3 separate regions of the Homo sapiens genome follow, and all the other regions are linked to region 3. Evidence: promoter capture Hi-C in 16 types of primary human blood cells and fetal thymus (Javierre and others, 2016). All regions are on one chromosome and are shown on one strand. Each heading gives the region's core, a stretch centred on a gene start or on the middle of the fragment in contact. The rest is flanking DNA. Distances are from core to core; before and after follow the strand shown. Region 1 overlaps ITGA10 (integrin subunit alpha 10). Region 2 overlaps RNF115 (ring finger protein 115). Region 3 holds the start of RNF115 (ring finger protein 115).

Region 1 (2,700 bases), core at 161-2,660, 68 kb before region 3:
CCAAAGGAAAGAGGAGTAGAATGCATTTCAGGTAAAGCACCAGATGTATTGATTGTCCTTGGAAAACAAACAGCAGCAGCAGATGTGACCAGGGGTTTTCCATCTATTACCCTTCCTCTCTTTTCCCATTGGTCTTCAGCCTTTTCTTCTGGTCTTGAGAGCCCTCAACATTATGCCTCTCAGCCTCAACTTTGCTGTTGGGATTCCAAAGAACTATATCACCTGATAATGGCTCATTTTAAATGTCTTCCTATCCACTTGTTCCATAGGCCAAGTTCAAGTCCCTGACGGTGGTCAGCACCTTTGAGCTGGGAACCGAAGAGGGCAGTGTCCTACAGCTGACTGAAGCCTCCCGTTGGAGTGAGGTAGGGCTGGAGACCGAGTCTGAGAGCTGTGAAAATAATGATGATGGGTATGTGGTAGGGCCACCCGTGGGCTTTTTCAGAACGAAGGCATCTCCATCAGGCAGCAGGATCCTAGTGTTCCACTGCCGCCATTCCTGCCTCAGTTTCTTTCCTTTAAGTAGCAGGAGGTTATTTATTCTATTTGGGGGCTGGCTTTGATATAATGTGGGGTGAGGCTAGCTGGGTTATAGGATGCATGTAGAAAACTACTCTTCTGTCCACGCAGAGCCTCTTGGAGGTGGTTCAGACCCGGCCTATCCTCATCTCCCTGTGGATCCTCATAGGCAGTGTCCTGGGAGGGTTGCTCCTGCTTGCTCTCCTTGTCTTCTGCCTGTGGAAGGTAAGCACTGCTTTAGTGGGGAGTGTGGAGCATGATGCCCATGAGTTGAGGGATCCTTGATTATAGCAGAGAGAACAGGATTTGTGCTGGGCAGCTAACCAGGCTGTGGATGTCATGCCCAGATCTCCTTCACTGTACCCCACAAATGTTGGTTAAATTATTCTAAGCCAAATAAAATAAATTTGAATTCCATTTTTGGAAACAGAACAAAAGTGAAGACCTCAGATAAGTCTGAGAGCTACTGGCAAGGTTCCCAGTCTAGGCATTTGGCAGTGACGCTTATCTTTTCTTCTACAGCTTGGCTTCTTTGCCCATAAGAAAATCCCTGAGGAAGAAAAAAGAGAAGAGAAGTTGGAGCAATGAATGTAGAATAAGGGTCTAGAAAGTCCTCCCTGGCAGCTTCTTCAAGAGACTTGCATAAAAGCAGAGGTTTGGGGGCTCAGATGGGACAAGAAGCCGCCTCTGGACTATCTCCCCAGACCAGCAGCCTGACTTGACTTTTGAGTCCTAGGGATGCTGCTGGCTAGAGATGAGGCTTTACCTCAGACAAGAAGAGCTGGCACCAAAACTAGCCATGCTCCCACCCTCTGCTTCCCTCCTCCTCGTGATCCTGGTTCCATAGCCAACACTGGGGCTTTTGTTTGGGGTCCTTTTATCCCCAGGAATCAATAATTTTTTTGCCTAGGTGCCTGACTCCTTTCAGATTCCCTCTTTATCTTCCCTCACAGTTTGGAAAGGATGAGGGTTATCTTCCTCGATTCTTCCACCCTCTCACTTTCCTGCCTGTTCCCCACTCCACAGGAGGGAGCTGACGTTGGCTTGAAAGGAGTAAAGTCAACATCTGCTGCTTTCCTGTGGACTCTGGTGATTCATAGAGCCGGATGGGGAGAGTCAACAGGAAAAAAGGAGGGAGGAGGAAAAGCCACAAGAGACATTCTGTACAATTCCAAGGAACAGAGAAGCCTTTAGACAGGCAACTGCCATCCCCCCTGAAACCTGAGACCTGTAGTGCACTCGACCGCCCTCAGGTGTTGGTGAAACAGAGCTGCCCCCAGGCTCGCTGGGCATAGGCTTCCTGATTCCAAGCCTTTTCTGGGAGCAAAGCCAGGGCCTGGTGCCTGATTTTCTGAAGCCAGGAGCCCTCAGGTGGCTGGAGCTGGAATAGCAGGGAGGACTGGGTGTACCTAGGCAGTATTTTCTCTACTTCTCTCAAGTCTTATACTCACTCTTGAGCCCTCCTTGGGGCCTGCTTAGAAAGCAGACAGGAGAGAGAGTACTGCTACTTGATGATGGGAAATGCTTTCACTTTACCAGCTTTGGGAAGCAGCAGCCCCATGGGATCTAAAAGTGTGGAGTCTGCATTAAGAAACCTACATGGGTGGCATGGGGCTCTGGGGAGCAAGCCCTTACTTGCTCAGCACTGGTTATGTAGCACAAATAGCTCCTAGGAAAATGTTTCTGGGGCAACCCTAGAACCCTGGTCATATTTTGCAGGGTTTCTCTGGTGGAATCAGTTTGCCAGCCCTTGCTTGATGCTTACTGGAAATCTCCAGGTTAATTTCTATCTCTGATCCCTCCCCAACCCACTCCATATTTGGGTCATGGACAGTAAAGGCAGTTGGATTCTCATAGACAACTGGGTAACTTATATTTCTTTGTAATCAAGACTTGAGATATCGAAGTCAGTTATTGGTCTCCAGAGTGCAGCTCTGGGAGCCTTTTGAAGAATCAGCACTCATTAAGAGCTGAGAAGAGAGAAGACCTGATTGGGTGGTTGACTAGCAGTCACAGAACCTGTCCTCCCAGGCTGTTCCTGAGGCCTGACCACAGTATTTATTTTGGCATGTCTCTGGCCTTCTGCAGAGGCCCACCCTCATGGGCATTGTCTCTGTTTCCCAGTGGGGTGGACAGTATATCAGATGGTCAGAACAAATAAAGTTCAGTGTCAAATGACTT
Region 2 (2,700 bases), core at 71-2,570, 70 kb after region 3:
AGCCTCCCAAAGTTCTGGGATTATAGGCAAGAGCCACCACACCCGGCCATTTCCCCCACTTTTTTTTACCTTGTCTTGGAAGTCACAGATTATCAATTCTGCCATATTCTATTGTTAAGTGAGTCACTAAGTCCAGCCCACACTGAAGGGAAGATTATCAAATAATTTTTGGACATATTTTTAAAACAACACGAAGCATTCTAAAAAAAAGAAAACACAATGAATTCATAGAAGCAGAGAATAGAATGGTAGTTACTAGGAGCTGTGGGGCAGAGGGGGTGGATTAGAGAGATGTTGAAGGATACAAAATTTTAGTTAAAAGTTCAAGAGATCTGTTGTACAACGTGGGTGACAGTAGTTAATAACAATGTTTTCAGCCAGGTGGGGTGGCTCATGCCTATAATCCCAGCACTTTGGGAGGCCAAGGCGGGCGGATTACTTGACAGCCCGGCCAACATGGTGAAACCCCATCTCTACTAAAAATACAAAAATTAGCCAGGCGTGGTGGTGTGCATCTGTAATCCCAGCTACTTGGGAGGCTGAAGCACAAGAATTGCTTGAACCTGGGATATGGAGGTTGCAGTGAGCTGAGATGGTGCCTCTGCACTCCATCCTAGGTGACAGAGCAAGACTTCATCTCAAAAAAAGAAAAAAAAAAAACAACCAGTGTTTTGTACATCTGAAAATTGCTGAGAGAGTAGATTTTAAGGGTTATTGTTGCAAATAAGTTTGTGAGGTAATGCATATGTTGATAGTTTGATGTAGTCATTCCACAATGCATACATATTTCAAAATATGTTATATACCATAATATATGCAATTTTTGTCAGTTAAAAATAAATAATGAAAAATAATACAAAAAAGCAAGCAAACAAACGGAATAGTGTAGTTAGCTGCTGTTGAACTTTAGTAGCAGGGAAAGTCTAATGTTGGCTATTGCCATTGTTATATTAATTGGCCTAATAAGTAAAGTGGGAACCAGGGACTTAAAATTGCATATCATTGCTGGGCGTGGTGGCTCACACCTGTAATCCCAGCACTTTGGGAGGCTGAGGTCAGGAGGTCAAGATCAGCTTTGTCAACATGGTGAAACCCCATCTCTACTAAATCTACTAAGTATACAAAAAATTAGCCGGGTGTGGTGGCAGGTGCCTATAATCCCAGCTACTCGGGAGGCTAAGGCAGGAGAATTGCCTGAACCTGGGAGGCAGAGGTTGCAGTGAGCCGAGATCGCTCCACTGCACTCCAGCCTGGGCGGCAGAGCGAGACTCTGTCTCAAAAAAGAAAAAAAATTGCATATCATCCAGAACACAGAAGATCCAGTGAAACAATTTCTTCAGGTTTTTCTTTTGCTGAGGCATCACTCCAGTATCTCTTTGGGTAACAAAGACTCATTCGTGTAAAGAACTGTGTACCTGTGCCATCTTAAGTATTCAGAGTGACAAATGCTAAGCATGTGTGTGTTTATATGTGTTTGTGTTATAATCATCTGAAACAACCTTAACATAGAATTATTGCTTAAACTTTTTTTTAAAGGACTCTTTAAATGATATCTTATTCAGAAACCCAATGTGTACAACATACAAAAATGGAACTACCCTTGTTAAAGGGAGGTGGGTCCAGAGTTCCACTGGCTCGGCATCCCTTTTAACCCTTCCTTATGTTGATGTCAGATATTCAGGGAACATAGTTTGAAAAACTATACCATACCATCAGATCCCTTTCCAGCTTAATTCACAAAAATCTATTAATCTGTAAGATAGCAGAGCTCAGGAAGATAGCCATAATAGCAAAATAGCACACCGCTGTGTGGCAGGCTGATTTCTGATGCTGTCTCTTGTGTACTAGCCAATGAAAAGCCATTTTGGTTTAGGGAATTAGTTGGTGATTAGGCAGCCATGGATATCTGTAGAGTACTTTTCATTAGTCTGTTGTCTTATCTAATTTTTTCTTCTGTAACAGAATACTACAACACATCTTTGCAGGATTCTTTGCAAATTCTGCCATTCCTGGATCTCCACACCCTTTTTCCTGGTAAGTAACTAATTGTTTTCTATCTTACTCTATTGGAGTGACATATTTTAGGTGCTGTCATTTCTGTGCAGTAGAGAAAAAGAGCTGCATAGGCCGGGTGCGGTGGCTCATGCCTCTAATCCCAGCACTTTGGGAGGCCGAGGCTGGCGGATCACGAGGTCAGGAGATCGAGGCCATCCTGGCTAACATGGTGAAACCCCGTCTCTACTAAAAATATAAAAAATTAGCCAGGCGTGGTGGCATGCTTCTGTAGTCCCAGCTACTCGGAGGCTGAGGCAGGAGAATCACTTGAACCCGGGAGGTGGAGGTTGCAGTGAGCCGAGATCGCGCCACTGTACTCCAGCTTGGGCGACAGAAAGAGACCCTGTCTCAAAAAAAAAAAAAAAAAAAAAGAGCTGCATAGGTGAGTATGTAGATGTAACTGGAGGCTGCTACACTGCCATTATCTGCTAAGCCCAAACTTAATCAGAACTTTTTTTTTTATTATTATTCAGGCTCAGGAAGGCCGTCCTGGTCCCCCAGGATGTTTGGGTGCTAGAAATGTCTTGATTCCTTTTATATTCAGGTCTGAGAGTTGTATTGAGGTAGAGAATGAGATGGTCCCTGCCAGGCTTGGTATCTGATTTGTGGGTTTCCCCAGTAGACTACACAGGAATATTTTACTCC
Region 3 (2,700 bases), core at 35-2,534:
AGCACTTTGGGAGACCGAGGTGGGCGTATCATGAGGTCAGGAGTTTGAGACCAGCCTGGCCAATATAGTGAAACCCCTTCTCTACTAAAAACACACAAAAAAATTAGCTGGGCGTGGTGGCGGGTGCCTGTAATCCCAGCTACTAGGGAGGCTGAGACAGGAGAATCGCTTGAAGCCGGGAGGCAGAGGTTGCAGTGAGCCGAGATCGCGCCACTGCACTCCAACCCGGGCGACAGTGCGAGATTCTGTCTCCAAAACAAAAAAAAACAAAAAAAATTACTCATAATATATTAAGTGACAGAAGCAAGCTGAAAAAATATAAAAATTCAATTATTGTAAAAAAAAAGGAAAAATGTATGCATAGGAAAAGACTATGCATCAAATTTATCTCTATGGGATTATGCGTGATTCTGATTTTCCTTAAAGATTGGGAGATGATTTTGCGGTCTGTCACAGACCTTAGTTTCTACACTTCACTGCTTGGAAGAATTAAGGTCACTGTTCACAGCTCGGTGGGAGTGAACAGGCAGTGTTATTCTCAGTCCATAAAGGAAATGATAATTTCGAAAAAGAAATTTAGGAGGTAAAGGACTGCTTCTCAACAGGGTGTGTCAAACAGGAGATGAGGTTACGTTGTTTGCAGGACAGTATTCAATTCTTAAACTTCTACTCCTTGACAAAGTTGACACAATCAGAAACGGACGTAGTTAATTTTATGATTACTTCCTTATTACAAATTGCTACCAAACATTGTTTACTTATTTCTTCCAATTCCTAAGAAGCCAAGTCTTTGCCTCCCCGTCCCCACCCCGCCTCAGTATCACCAGAGACCTATTTCGTCCATCCACATATCTTTGGAGAAGCATTCCCAGATCCTTTGCCATCCTCGGAAAGGGCTTCCAAGGCGCTTGGCTCCTAGCTCTACACTTCCTTTACACAGGTTCCCGTTTCGGACGTGGTCTCTTGGTCCAGTCAGTGCCGCCACGTTCAGACAGCATTTTCCACTAACCTCAGGGTCAGCGCAATCCGGGGGCTCCAACTCCAATTCGGCTGAGCTTCCCGCGACGGCTTCCTACGGCTCCCGCTGGCCTTCTAGGCCGAGGTGGAGCCCACCGCCCTTTCTAGGACGCGGATCGCCACCGAAGAAGACGCGGAAAAGCAAAAAGCGCGTGCCACTCTACCCCAGAGTTTCGGCGGCTTCCGGGGACGCTCTTTCTTTCTTCTCGCTGGAAGACTGGAGGACCAGCGAGGGGCTGTTTGTGGAGCCGGCGGGCGGGCCGTTTGTCTCTCCTTCCTGCGCCTCTTTGGTGCTGGGAGGCGGGCCGCAGGGTAGCTGTTGGCGCCGCCGCGTTTCTGGGCCTGGCCAACTCACGTGACCGACGCGGGCTCTGAAGCGGTGGGCCGCACCGAGGCGGCGGCGGCGGCGACGACTGCAGCTCGGGAGGTAGCGGCCTGGCGAGGGACGGGCCGGCTGCCCTCTCGGACGGCCGCGGCGGAGGGCAAAAATGGCGGAGGCTTCGGCGGCCGGGGCGGACTCGGGCGCCGCTGTAGCCGCCCACCGGTTTTTCTGCCACTTTTGCAAGGGCGAGGTCAGCCCCAAACTACCGGTAAGAGCGCTGTGTTCTCTATACTTGGGAACCTCATAGATTCCTGGCCCCGATTTCCCGGAACTGGGTCTGGAGCTTTCTGCACATCATTGACTCGCCCGACATCGGTCTGCCGAATACCTGCTGCCCACTTCTAAGCCGCCGGCCCTAAACCCTGGGCATCACGGCCTCGGCCCCGTACCTCCTGCCCACCTCTTAATTCATCCTGGGCTGCTCCACCTGACCTCACCTCTTTACCTCCCGTGTCCTTAATTTTTTTTTTTCTTAGCAAGTTTCCCTCTGATAACTCTCCCCTCAATTTTCTTGCATTCTTTTATACCTGGTCTTTTTCCTACGATGACCTCCCCCCACACTTCTTCCACTGTGTCTTCTCACCTTCCTCTGTGTTCTTTTCCACTTTTCACCCCCCACCGCCCCCGCCACCTCCCTTGTCAGTGAAGCGAAATAGCGGATTGCTGAGGATTGTCACTCTTCGGTTTTTTCTAGGGAAGGAAGCACAGAAAGGGGGTTGGAAGGTATCTGTGGGGCGAAAAGGGGGATTTTGCTCTTCAGTGGTTTCCAGGGTCCTTGTGACAGTGAAGACAGCAGCGTACTAATGACTTGCAGACGGTCTGCACTCCTATCACTGTTGAAGGAAATGGCTTTAGGAAGAAGGCAGGACGTACTGTTTCAACTTCGTTTATTTTGGTTGTCATGCTGCCAGTGTCTTTAATATCATTGTTCCGCCCCCCGCCCTGTCCCTTTCTTCACCTAAGAAAAAGAGCCGGGACAGAATGTTGGGGATGCTTCCTCTGACGTGAAATTGGTTTTCACGAGTTTCTGCCAGAGTGTTAGCCCCTTGAGAGGCAGTGCTGTGGTTGGGAAGAAAACACTTTTGTAGGTCAGGCGCGGTGGCTTAGGTCTGTAATCCCAGTGCTTTGGGAGGACGAGGCAGGAGGATTGCTTGAGGCCAGGAGTTTGAGACCAGCCTGGGCAACAGAGTGAGACCCCTCTCTACAAAAACAAACAACATTTATGCAGCATACTAGCCAGCACCAGCATCACAAACCCAGAAACTGTTTTGGGTTGGGTTGTAGCTACTACGAGGAGCTCC

What was found. Contacts are between HindIII fragments. The CHiCAGO score rates a contact against its expected background, and 5 or more counts as called.
Region 1: a fragment that was not itself captured here is called in contact with the fragment with the promoter of RNF115 in region 3 in 1 of 17 cell types (erythroblasts); the score reaches 5.1 in erythroblasts.
Region 2: a fragment that was not itself captured here is called in contact with the fragment with the promoter of RNF115 in region 3 in 1 of 17 cell types (endothelial precursors); the score reaches 5.5 in endothelial precursors.

What each region holds. Positions count from the first base shown.
Region 1 is chr1:145,891,205-145,893,904 of GRCh38, reverse strand. ITGA10 (integrin subunit alpha 10) reads left to right here. Exons shown (of 30, transcript NM_003637.5): 28 at 270-365; 29 at 631-744; 30 at 1,042-2,697. The coding sequence ends at 1,107. Among named protein-coding and RNA genes, the nearest start is that of ANKRD35-DT, 6.4 kb to the right of the region's middle. The HindIII fragment of the contact is 8,055 bases long and covers 1-2,700 here.
Region 2 is chr1:145,752,312-145,755,011 of GRCh38, reverse strand. It overlaps RNF115 (ring finger protein 115), which reads left to right. Exons shown (of 9, transcript NM_014455.4): 5 at 1,963-2,034. Among named protein-coding and RNA genes, the nearest start is that of CD160, 34 kb to the right of the region's middle. The HindIII fragment of the contact is 5,705 bases long and covers 1-2,700 here.
Region 3 is chr1:145,822,679-145,825,378 of GRCh38, reverse strand. It overlaps RNF115 (ring finger protein 115), which reads left to right and starts at 1,284. Exons shown (of 9, transcript NM_014455.4): 1 at 1,284-1,607. The coding sequence starts at 1,506. It overlaps POLR3C (RNA polymerase III subunit C), which reads right to left and starts at 1,179. Exons shown (of 15, transcript NM_006468.8): 1 at 1,010-1,179. RefSeq lists an enhancer at 919-1,318. The HindIII fragment of the contact is 15,759 bases long and covers 1-2,700 here.